Regions from separate parts of the Homo sapiens genome. Here region 2 is linked to region 1. The links are contacts of gene promoters, found by promoter capture Hi-C in blood cells and fetal thymus (Javierre and others, 2016). All regions are on one chromosome and are shown on one strand. The core of a region is centred on a gene start or on the middle of the fragment in contact, and the rest is flanking DNA. Distances in the headings are between cores, read along the strand shown. Region 1 holds the start of ADGRE3 (adhesion G protein-coupled receptor E3). Region 2 holds the start of BRD4 (bromodomain containing 4).

Region 1 (6,194 bases), core at 1,493-3,992:
TGACTAGCTCACAGGGCCAACTGATAAACCATATGGCTGAATAGTGTTACCCTGTTCCTAAAACTCAGGCAGTCTGGGGGACCATCATGTTTCCTTAAGACTAGTCTTTAGTCTAACCAGCAAGCCTGTACTCACTAATTTGGGCAAAGGTCTTAAGTTAGGGTTTCTGAAGAGTCATCGGTGTGTCAGAATCCCAGAGTTCTAAGAAACTTTAGAAATCATCCACTGACTTATTTTGTAGATGAGGAAACAGGTCCCCTGGGGTTAAGTGGCTGGCACACTAGTTGGGCAAATTTGGGTAAGTTGTTTAACTTCTCTAAGCTTCCTTATGTGAAATAGGGTGGCAGTATGACCTACTTTGTGGGGTTTTGGAGATGACCTAAATGAGGGACTGTGTAGAGCACAATGTCAGGCAGGAAGTCCTCCACTGATACTGGCTGCCTCTGTCACCATCTGACTTCCTCCTTTCCCATTTGGATGCTTTTTCTTTCTCTCTTTTTGCCTAATTGCTCTAGCTTGCTGCCTATATTATCATTTGAGCTCTGTTGCTCAGGCTGGAGTGCAGTGATGCAATCACAGCTCATTGTAACCTTGAACTCCTGAGCTCAAGCGATCCTCCCACCTCAGCCTCCAGGGTAGCTGGGACTGCAGGTGTGTGCCACCATGACTGGCTAATTTTTTTTTTTAATGTTTCTTGGAGACAGAGTCTTGCTATGTTGCTCAGTCTGGTCTTGAACTCCTGGCTCAAGCAATCTTCCCGCCTTGCCTTCCAAAGCTTTGGGATTATAGGTATGAGCCTCCATGCCCAACCCTGGAATCCTAATTCTTGACCCAATGCTCATATCATCACCCTTGCCTGTACCATCCAGTGATATGGGCTAAAAGTTCCTGGATAACCAAAATTCACTAATAATCCACCTCAGAAGTGTGGAGGACTCTGTCTCCAGTTGCAAAAAGGCAGGCTTCTTTCACATTTGATTCCACATATACTGAAACACCTCTTATATATAAGATGCTATGCTAGGGGTTGCAAAGGTGAGGGAGACATGGCATTAGGATTTAAGTGTAGCTTGTATTATTTTGATAGAATTTACAGCCTATCAGCTGCCTCTGCAGCAGAATAGCTGTGAGGCTTTGAGAAATTCACAGAACCTCTCTATGATGCAATTTCTTATCTGTAATGTGCAGATGCTATGTGACAATGTAAAGCAATTTAAGCCTAATGCCAGGCTAAAGTAGCTGCTTAATAAATGTAAGCTTTGATTGATATTGGGACTATCAATATTGTTAATTCATCTGGAGCTGGAAAGATGGATGGGATTTCATCCGTACAGAGATGGTGGTTGAAGCCATGGAATTAGGAGATTCCCATAGGGAGAGGGAGTAGAAAAACAGAAGATCCCAGTAAGGATCCTGTGGGAGGAGCATTATAGCAAAGATCTGGAGACAGATGGTTTGGATTCAAATCCCAGCTCTCTTATTTACTAGCTGTGTGATGTTGGACAAATAACATAACCTGTGCCCCAGTTTTCTTATCTGTAAGATGAGGATACCCCATGAGCATACTGATGATGCAACAGATTAATACATGTAAGGTGCATAGTGAGTTTTCAAAAATGTTGGTTATCATTATTTTCTTTGTATAAATTTATGGGATACAAGTGTAATTTTGTTACACGCATAGATTTCATAGTGGTGAAGTCAGGGCTTTTAGAGTATCCACCATCCAAATGATGTACATTGTAACCATTAGGTAACTTCTTATTTTCCACTGTCCTTCTACTCCCTCAGCCTTCCCAGTCTTCATCGTCTATCATTCTACTCTCTATGTCCATGTGTCCACATTATTTAGCTCCCACTGATAAACAAGAACATGAGGCATTTGTCTTTTGGTGTTTGAGTTATTTCACTTAATATAATGACCTCTAAAATTAATAATAAAATTATCATTTATTTTCTTGTCACAGGAAAATGATAAAGGAGGGAGAAGAAAGAATAGCAAGAGAAAAAGGAAAAAAGTCAGGGCAGGGCTAGTTTGCAGAAGTTATCAAGAAGGAGAAGACATCAATTAGAAAACAAAACTTGCCAAGAGGAAGATGAACAACGTATTAGAGACCGGGTGCGGTGGCTCATGCCTGTAATCCTAGCACTTTGGCAGGCTGAGGCGGGTGGATCACCTGAGGTCAGGAGTTCGAGACCAGCCAGGGCAACATGGTGAAACCCCATCTCTACTAAAAATACAAAAATTAGCCAGGTGTGGTGATGTGTGCCTGTAATCCCAGCTACTCAGGAGGCTGAGGCAGGAGAATCACTTGAACCCGGGAGGCAGAGGTTTCAGTGAGTCAAGATTGCGCCACTGCACTCCAACCTGGGTGACAGAGTGAGATTCTGTCTCAAAAAACAAAACAAAACAAACAAACAAAACAAACAAAAAACCAAGCTACTAGATTGGATAGGAACATTTTAGGGATATTCGAGAGCATACTTTGAATAGGGTAGTCAGGAAGGAAACCACACTCCAAAGGGAAAAGGTGAGAGTGTTCAGAGCAGAAGAAAGAGGAGGAGAAAATAACCAATTGTTGAACCAAGTGGTCCCTGACTGGGGGATAGGTTAAGCCTCAGTCATTGTTACAGTCACACATACCTGGAAGAAGCAATGGTCCCTGCATTTCTGTGGTACGGGTATCCCACGCCAGCCAGCCCTGGAAGCTCTCTACTGTGCCGTAAGCCAACCACCTTTCCTAGCTCAAGAAATCCCATGAGAATTGAAGTATGTATCTTAGGTCAGCTGACTCATGAAATTGCTATCAGAAAAGCAAACTGCTTCCCCTCTTTCGCCATCAGACTCATGGTTCTGCTTTTCGTTTATTTGCTGTACCTTTTCTGCCTAGCTATTGTTGATCACCTTTGGGATGATTGAGTTGGTAAACCCTAACGAGGAAATGCCCTGAAAGTTACATCACATTGTCTGAGGATTAGGAAGTGCCTTTGGGGCCAAAATAAATCTTAAATAAGCCTGTGGCTTTGAGGTGAGTAAACCAGATTTTAGGGTGTCTGTGTTGGTATCTGAAGTTTCCAGAGGAGTCATTTTAACATATCTTTCTCTTCCCCCAGTAGATGATACTTACTGGTTATGATTGCTGAGCCATAAGAAGTTAAGAGTCCCAAAGTCTCATAGAAGGTAATACATTATTTGGTTATTTGGACCAACCCTAACCAGTCACAGGACTTGGGAGAAAAAGTCTGTAAATCTACCCTTCCTCCAGCAAATATTTATTTATTTATTTATGTGGGTCTTGCTCTGTTACCCAGGCTGGAGTGCCGTGGCACAATCATAGCTCACTGCAACCTCAAACTCCTGGGCTCCAGCGATCCTCCCACCTCAGTCCTCTGAATCGTTAGGACTACAGGTGCATGCCACCACGCCTGGCTAATTTTTTTTAGTTTTTATTTTTTTTTTTGAAGAGAGACAGGGCCTCGCTTTGTAGCCCAGGCTTGTCTTGAATTTCTGGGCTCAAGCAATCCTTCTGCCTCAGTCTCCCAGTGTTGAGATTACCGGTGTGAGCCACTGCACCCGGCTCCCCTGCTTAAAACTCTTCTGAAGCTCTTCATTAGACTTAAAACACCAGACTTCCTACTGAAGCAGTGTTGTTGTCTGGGGTTCATCCTCTCATGCCAAGTAAATCAAGGATGCGGATGCACAAGAAGTGAATTTAAGGCCGAGCACTGTGGCTCACCCTTGTAATCCCAGCACTTTGGGAGGCTGAGACGGGCGGATCACCTGAGGTCAGGAGTTCAAGACCAGCCAAGCCAACATGGTGAAACCCTGTCTGTACTAAAAATACAAAAATTAGCTGGGCATGGTGGCGCATGCCTGTAATCCCAGCTACTCGGAAGGCTGAAGCGGGAGAATTGTTTGAACCCGGGAGGCAGAGGTTGCCGTGAGCGAAGATTGCGCCAGTTCCTTCCAGCCTGGGTGACAGAGTGAGACTTCATCTAAAAAAAAAAAAAAAAAAGTGAGTTTCAGAGCAGAAGTTTAACAGGCAAGAGAAGAGAAAAAAGAGAAAAGCTCTATCCTGCAGAGAGAGAGGGGCTCCCAAGTGAGTCTTCTGGTCTCGTGGTGAAATACATGGGGTTTTATAGCCGAGCTTGAGGAGGAGCTGTCTGATTTACACAGGAACCGAGAGATTGGTCGGACTGGGTGTGCTGTTTGCATAGCACGCAAAGAAGCTGGCCGCCCCATCCTCATCTTTTACTATGCAGATGGGGTCTCTACCTGGCTGGCACTATGTTGCCTGCTTTTTTACTGCACACGTGGTGATAAAGAAAAGGGAACATGGTGAAACCCCGTCTCTACTAAAAATACAAAAAATTAGCCGGGCGCGGTGGCGGGCGCCTGTAGTCCCAGCTACTCGGGAGGCTGAGGCAGGAGAATGGCGTGAACCCGGAAGGCGGGGCTTGCAGTGACCCGAGATAGCGCCACTGCAGTCTGGCCTGGGCGAAAGAGCGAGACTCTGTCTCAAAAAAAAAAAAAAAAAAAAAAAAGGGAAGAGGGAACCTCCATGTTGAACATGCCTGCCCCCAGGAAGCCTTTTCCTATTGGCACAGCCGCTGCATTTACCTTTGCAAACTTCCAGCTTGCTTATTTATGTTTGTAGCTCGATTTTGCAGACTGCTCTTTGTCGTGGTGGTGATGATGATGATGGTGATAATAACGGTTGTGGTGGTGATGGTGGTAATCATGGTAGTGGCAGGAGTGATGGTGGAGCTATAGGTGGTGGTGGTGACGATGAAGGAAGGGATGATGGTGATGATGACGATGGTTGCGATGATGGTGAAGATGATGAAAGTGACGGTGATGGTAGTAGCGATGGTGATGGTTACATTATGGTGATATTTTCAGAGATGGTGGTGATGATGGTGATTGAAGGTGACAGCTGCAGTGAAGGTGATTGTTGTGGTGATGGTGACGAAGGCTGTGATAGCAGTGGTGATAATGATGGGGTGAAAATAGCAAAGGTGGTGGTTATATTGGTAGTGGAGGTAAAGACGAAAAGAAATGATTTTGGGGCTGCTTTTTGTTAACAGGGAAGCCTTACTGAGGACTCTCTTACCCTCACCAGTTGCCTGAATAATATCTTTTTAGCTCTTGTATCACTAGATACAACAGGAACAAAAAGGAACAAACAAACAGGCAAACAAACAAAAAAACCACTGCAAGAAAGTAGCCCTGGTGGCAACTGAAGACACGGTCATGGATTAAATCATTTAGGGAGAGATTATAGAGTGGAAAAAGAACCCTGAGTAATTCATTTAAAAACTCAGGCAATGTTAATTTGTGCAAAGGCAATAGAAAAAAATTAAAAAAAATAAAGGAATGGAGAGGCAGCTAATAGAGGAGACAGGACGAGAATGGCCAGAGAGATGAGGGGTGGGGGTGGGAAATGAATGGAGTATGGTATTATGGAGGTAAAGGAAAGAGATCACACTGAATTAAGACTGAAAGACACCCACAGGAGAGAGCTGCAAGGGGGTTGTTTGTATTCTTAGCATGAACAATTACAGTAGTGAAGGTGGTGGTGGTGGTGATGATGCTGATGCTGATGATAGCGGTTGTGGTGGTGGTTGTTATATATAAAGTTTCGGTGACGTGAAAGAAATAGCACTTGAATATAAAATTTTCCTTTTAATTCTCAGCAAGGCAAGTTACTTCAATATAGAAGGGTGTGCCCTTACAGATGGAACAGTGGCGAGCGCACATTCGGACATGGGAGGGGAAGGGGTTCTTATCCCTGACTCAGGTGGCCCCTGCTGCTGTGTCGTTCCCCTATTGGCTAGGATTAGACCGCGCAGGCTAAACTAATGCCGATTGGCTAATTTAAAGAGAATGACGGGGTGAGTGCTTTGGCGGGAGTCAGGGCAGAGCAGGTAGCAGGTAATCGGAATGAGTTAGGGTGGAGCAGGTGATCAGAATGAGTCAGGGTGGAGTAGGTAATCGAAAAAGCTGCTTTACGAGGAAGTTAAGTTTAAAAGTAGAAGGCAAAGAATTGAACATACTGACATATTAATTCTTTGAAAATAAATTTAGAACTCATATCTAACATGGTGATGATGATGATGATAATAACGGTTGTGGTGGTGATGATGATGGTGATAGAATGGTTGCAGTGGTGATGGTGGTCATCATGGTAGTG
Region 2 (6,194 bases), core at 1,410-3,909, 660 kb after region 1:
CAACAACTGGCTCAAAAAGGCAACTTTTAGAAACAAAGTCTAAATTCCTTTAAACAATTCAATAATTTAGTGGAAATGTTACTAAGTGGCCAATGATTCTCGTTATTCTTAGCTAAAAATTTTCCCTCGCTGTCCTCCAGACTAGCGAAGCTAGGCATATAGCACCCCAGAACAGCCAAACAATCCTTAAAACTCAGCAGCTACCTTCTTATCTTTCATCCGTAGGCAAAGTTCCTTATCTTCAGCAATTCCACTGGGCTGACTGCTAGCAAGATACTCGGAGGTGGACTCGACTCCTTCCAATTAAGACCAACTAAAGCCATTCTGAGACCGGCTAACTCCAGTTTGAGCCTTTAAGATACTATGTTTCCTACCAAAGAAAGAGGTATGGTGGATAACAGAGCAGCAATACATTTTGTTTCAGATTAGGCTTTGCCTTCTCCATTTGATCAATGGAAACCCTGAGTGGTTTATCTTTCCCTGGCTGAAGTTTTTGGGGGGAAGCGCTTGGTTATCTACAACGCATCAGTGATAAGATAAAAAGATAAAAAACATAATCCCCACCCAAATTAAACCGAAATAAATGCTTTATGAAATTATTGGCGGCCGGGAACGGTGGCTCATGCCTGTAATCCCAACACTTTGGGAAGCCGAGGAGGATGGAACACCTGAGGTCAGGAGTTCGAGACCAGCCTGGCCAACATGGTGAAACCCGCGTCTCTCCTAAAAATGCAAAAATTAGCTAGATGTGGTGGCGGGCGCCTGTAGTCCCAGCTACTCGAGAGGCTGAGACAGGAGAATCGCTTGAACCCAGGAGGCAGAGGTTGCAGTGAGCCGAGATCGCGCCACTGCACTACAGCCTGGGCGACAGAGCGAGACTCCATCTAAAAGTATATGTATATATTGGCAAGATCATAAAACAGATTGTGCCATCAAAAACTTTCTTGAAATTAAAAACACATTCATAAATCCTTTTGAGTATCGCTTTCTTTACAACTTCCAAAGACGGTAGGGAACTTGACAGCTCCATTCACAAAAAACTCCCGACCATTGTTACAGCCCCAAAGAGCCACTGGCTTACGAGGTAAACTGCGACTTGGTTTTTGGAACCACGGACTGGTAGAGCCCTGTCGAAGGTAAGCAAAGACATTCCAATTCTCGTGAGGCATACATTCCAAGGGGTCACTAGCATCCAACACACACGCAGAGAAATGAACCCAAGACCAGACACCCCACCAGGCTGCACGAAACGTAAACAAGTAAACAAGCAAATAAAAATCTTAAAAAAACAAAGCGTAGTCTTGAGTAAAAGGGAGGTCAGCCACCCAGGAGAAGCACATGACTCATGCACCGGCCTGAACTAAAGTATTTACACCGTCCACTACAACAGAGTGGGGTTTCCCATCTTCAAGCAAACCCAAGCCTTGGGGGCATCTCAGCCGAGTGAAGCCATGCTATTTCCGTTTGGGAGGAGGGGGATCATTTTATTTCGCTGAATCACAACTCCCCCACATCCCCACCCCAAATCACCACAATCACCACCACCACACAACACTGCAAATAAAATAGGCCGTTGCAAGGACGCCGGCGAGCACGGACCGAGCAAAACAAAGCGCCCAGCAAGGGGCTGCCAGGCTGAGAGTGGGTGCGTCAAGCGGGCCAAGCTCGCCTCCAGGGCACCGCTCCCGCCCTGAGGCCTGGCCTCAGACCGGCGTGCAGCCGCAGCCACCTCCCTCCGCAGGGGACCTGCCCCTTTCTCCGCAGCACTCCGGGGACCGCCGGGAAGGTGAAGAGATGGGGGTGGGGGCGCGCTGCCCCGGCCCAGGCAAAACGACCTGGGTGCCAGAAGGAGAGCGCGCCGGCCCCGGCCCACGTGAGCGCCGCGGCCGAGCCCGCCTAGAGGACCGCGGACCGGGACAGCTGCGCTCGCGGCCCCCGCGCCAGGCCGGGACTTACCCGGGCCGGGCGCGCCGCGGACCCCGCGGCGGCCGCTTCCTCCTCCTCCTCCTCCTCCTCACTTAACAAAATGGCGGCGGCAGGAAGTGCCGGGCGCCTCGGCCCGCCCCCCGCCCGCCCCCGACCGCCGGCCCCGCCGCGGCGCCCGCGCCCCCCACCCGCGCCCCGCCGGCCAGCCCAAGCCCGGGTCCGACGGCACCAAAGGCAGGACAGCCGCGAGCGACCCCGCCGCCCCGACACCAACGGCGCAGGCCGCCCCGGCCCGGAACGAACGGCGCGGGAGGCCCGCAGGCCCGAGCCCGCGTAGCCCCGGCCTCCCCGCCCCCGCGCCGCGCGGATGGCGTAGGTGGCGGCGCCCCGGCCCCATTACGCAATGCAGGTTACGCGGACCGCGCCGCGAGCCTCCGCCAGCCGCCCAGTGTCGTCCGCCGCCCCAAAGGGCACCAGTCCTCACCTGAGACGCTAGGCCGCACGCCGCCCCCGCCGGCCGTCCGCCCGCTGCCGCCGCCCCCTCCCCGAGCTGCCTGCGCGGCGCCGGGGCCCGCCCGCCGCTCTGCCGAGCTCACAGGCCGCGCTCGCCCGCGGGCACCGCCGGCAGCCGCCGCAGCCGCTGCCGCCGCCACTGCTTCGGCTCCTCGGCTGCGGGAGACCAGAACAAACAGCCCAGCCGCCGCCGCCGCCGCCGCCGCCGCCGCCAGCGCACTGACGTCACCGCGCACGCTGCGCGCGCGGCCCCGCGCCGCCGCCGCCCGGTGTGCGCGCCCCGCCCCCGCGCCCAGCGCGAACGAGCTCTGGAGAGACAGTGGCTGCGAGGTGAGTGGGGGATACCGCGGACTGAGGGAGGAGACCCCGCAGAGCGAAGGAGCGGGCTGGGGGAAACGGGCGGACTGCAGGCTGGGCCTGCGGGAAAAGATCTGAAGGCTGAGAGAGACATCCAAAATACTAAGAAAGGTCTGAAGACAGACCCTCACAGGGAGGGAGGATGGTGAGGAGGGACCCCACAGACTGATGGAGGAGGCGGAGGAGAGAGCCCTAAGGGGGGACCCCAGGTAGGGAGGCTGAGGCGAGAGAGCTGCGATGGGGGCGCCGGGGCTGGGGTGAAGTGGAGGAAAGGAGGTGAGAGGAGGCTGCGAGCAAGGCCGAGGCGGATCCTCCTTGGCTGCCCCTGGGCAGGGAGGTAGCACCTTTCTCCTCTTATGCCCCCCTGTTGATCTTCTTCCAACCCACCTTTTTAAAAAAAGGGACATGGTCTTGCTCTGTCCCCCAGGCTGGAGTGCAGTAGTGCAGTCATAGCTCACTGCAGCCTCAACCTGCTGGCCTCAAGCGATCCTCCTGCTTCAGCCTCCCAAGTAGCTGGGACTACAGGTGTGCACCACCACACCCAGCTAACTATTTTTTGTAGAGATGGGATCTCACGATGTTGGCCAGGCTGGTCTCTGTCTCCTGGACTCAAGCGATCCTCCTGCCTCGACCTCCCAAAGTGCTAGTATTACAGGCGTGAGCCACCGCGCCCAGCTCCTTCCCATCCTTAAGACTCAACCCCAAGTCAGACCAGGCTCGGTGGCTCACACCTGTAATCTCAGCACTTTGGGAGGCAGAGGCAGGAGGTTGGCTTGAGGCCAGGGGTTGGAGACCATCCTAGCCAACAGAGTGAAACCTCGCCTCTACTAAAAATACAAAAATTAGCCCCGTGTGGGCCGGGCGCAGTGGCTCACGCCTGTAATCCCAGCACTTTGGGAGGCGGGCAGATCACGAGGTAAGGAGATCGAGACCATCCTGGCTAAGACGGTGAAACCCCGTCTCTACTAAAAATACAAAAAATTAGCCGGGTGTGGTGGTGGGCGCCTGTAGTCCCAGCTACTCGAGAGACTGAGGCAGGAGAATGGCGTGAACCCGGGAGGCGGAGCTTGCTGTGAGCGGAGATCGCGCCCCTGCACTCCAGCCTGTGCGACAGAGCGAGACTCCGTCTCAAAAAAAAAAAAAAAAAATTAGCCGGGTGTGGTGGCGCATGCCTGTAATCCCATGCCTGTAATGCCAGCTACTCAGGAGGCTAAGGCAGAAGAATCACTTGAACCCGGGAGGCGTAGGTTGCAGTGAGCCGAGATTGTGCCACTGCACTCTAGCCTGGGCGACAGAGCAAGGCTCTGTCTCCAAAAAAGAAAAAGACTCAACCCTAAGTCAGCTCCAGGACGTATGTGCCTACTCTACATGTGTGAGTCCGAGGGGAAAAAACATCATATGACCTCTTCTAGGGCTTCCAAAGCACCCCACCTGGCCACGGAAGAGCTTAGTAAACATGGGGTAGTTTTGAGATTGCTAAAAGGAGGAAGTTAGGCATATGTCTCTTGTAGCTTAAAATAATACTGTGAAATTTTTCAAACCTGGAAACAACCACTTCTCTTTCCTTTTATATATATATATATTTTTTTTTTTAAGACAAGATCTTGCTCTGTCACCCAGGCTGGAGTGCAGTGGCTGGATCATAGCTCACTGTAACCTCAAACTCTCAGTCTCAAGTGATCCTCCCACGTCAGCCTCTTTAGTAGCTGGGACCACAGGTGTGCGCCACCGTGCCCAGCTAATTTTTGTATTTTTGTGGAGAGGAGGTCTCACCATGTTGCCCAGACTGGTCTTGAATTCCTGGGCTCAAGCGATCCACCTCCCTCAGCCTCCCAAAGTGCTGGAACTACAGGCGTGAGCCACCGCACCCAGGCCATTCTCTTAGCATTTTGTATTCCCATCTTTTAAAAATGGAAAGCAGGCTGGGCGCGGTGGCTCACACCTGTAATCCCAGCACTTTGGGAGGTCGAGGCAGGTGGATCACCTGAGGTCAGGAGTTCTAGACCAGCCTGGCCAACATGGTGAAACTTCGACTCTACTAAAAATATAAAAATTAGCCAGGTATGGTAGCGGGTGCCTGTAATCCTAGCTACTTTGGAGGCTGAGGCAGGAGAATCACTTGAACCCAAGAGGCAGAGGTGGCAGTGAGCTGAGATCGTGCCACTCCACTCCAGCCTGGGCGACAGTGAGACTCCATCTCAAAAAAAAAAAAAAAAAAAAAAGGAAAGCAAACTCAGTTCTAAAAAGTCTACATGGGGCCAGGCACAGTGGCTCACACCTGTAATCCTAGCACTTTGGGAGGCCAATGCGGGTAGATTACCTGAGGTCAGGAGTTTGAGACCAACCTGGGCAACATGGTGAAACCCCGTCTCTACTAAAAATACAAACAAAATTAGCCGGGTGTGGTGGCGGGCACCTGTAGTCCCAGCTACTCAGGAGGCCGAGGCAGGAGAATCGCTTGAACCTGGGAGGTGGAGGTTGCAGTGAGCCAAGATCATGCCACTGCACTCCAGCCTGGGTGACAGGGCAAAACTCCGTCTCAAAAAAAAAAACAAAAAAGTCTGCGTGGTATTTTTTTTTTAAGTCCAAGTAATGAAACATTTCCTGATGGCCCATGGTTTCAGAATATATGGATATAATAGGATACCAGTAAAATAGTTCTTTTCTATCATGTGTTTGCTCATGCTTAACCAGGGGCAATCATAAATCACTAATGGGTCCTAAGCAAAGTTAAAAATTAAATTTTTTCATTCATTCATGTATCTATGTATTAATTTATTCATTTATGACAGGGTCTTGCTCTGTTGCCCAGGCTGGAGTGCAGTGTTGCATTCATGGTTCACCAAAGGCTGGAGTGCAGTGTTGCATTCATGGTTCACCGAAGCCTCGACCTCCTAGGCTCATTCAATCCTCCCACCTCAGCCTCCCGAGTAGCTGGGACTACAGGCATGTGCCACTACACCCAGCTAAGTTTTTAAATTGTAGTTGGCTGGGCGCAGTGGCTCACGCCTGTAATGCCAGTACTTTGGGAGGCTGAGGCGGGTGGATCACCTGAGGTCGGTAGTTTGAGAGCAGCCTGGCCAACATGGTGAACACACTAGTCTGTACTACAAATACAAAAATTAAAGGCCGGGTGCAGTGGCTCATGCCTGTAATCTCAGCACTTTGGGAGGCCGAGGCAGGTGGATCACCTGAGGTCCGGAATTCACAACTAGCCTGGCCAAGGTGGTGAAACCTCATCTGTACTAAAAATAGAAAAAATTTGCGGGGCTTGGTGACAGGTGCCTGTAATCCCACCTACTCAGGAGGCTGAGGCAGAAGAATCACTTGAACCCAGGAAGCGGAGGTTGCAGTGAGCAGAGATTGCGGAGGTGGAGGATACAGTAGTGAGCGGAGAT

The links. Contacts are between HindIII fragments. The CHiCAGO score rates a contact against its expected background, and 5 or more counts as called.
Region 2: the fragment with the promoter of BRD4 here is called in contact with the fragment with the promoter of ADGRE3 in region 1 in 1 of 17 cell types (monocytes); the score reaches 5.1 in monocytes.

What each region holds. Positions count from the first base shown.
Region 1 is chr19:14,672,102-14,678,295 of GRCh38, forward strand. ADGRE3 (adhesion G protein-coupled receptor E3) reads right to left here and starts at 2,743. Exons shown (of 16, transcript NM_032571.5): 1 at 2,645-2,743. The coding sequence starts at 2,669. The HindIII fragment of the contact is 5,907 bases long and covers 1,256-6,194 here.
Region 2 is chr19:15,329,880-15,336,073 of GRCh38, forward strand. It overlaps BRD4 (bromodomain containing 4), which reads right to left and starts at 2,660. Exons shown (of 20, transcript NM_001379291.1): 1 at 2,411-2,660. It overlaps LOC124904643 (a long non-coding RNA gene), which reads left to right and starts at 2,734. Exons shown (of 4, transcript XR_007067146.1): 1 at 2,734-2,769. RefSeq lists silencers at 1,660-1,709, 1,720-1,869, 1,900-1,999, 2,200-2,429, 2,660-2,759 and 2 more and an enhancer at 2,926-3,542. The HindIII fragment of the contact is 24,183 bases long and covers 1-6,194 here.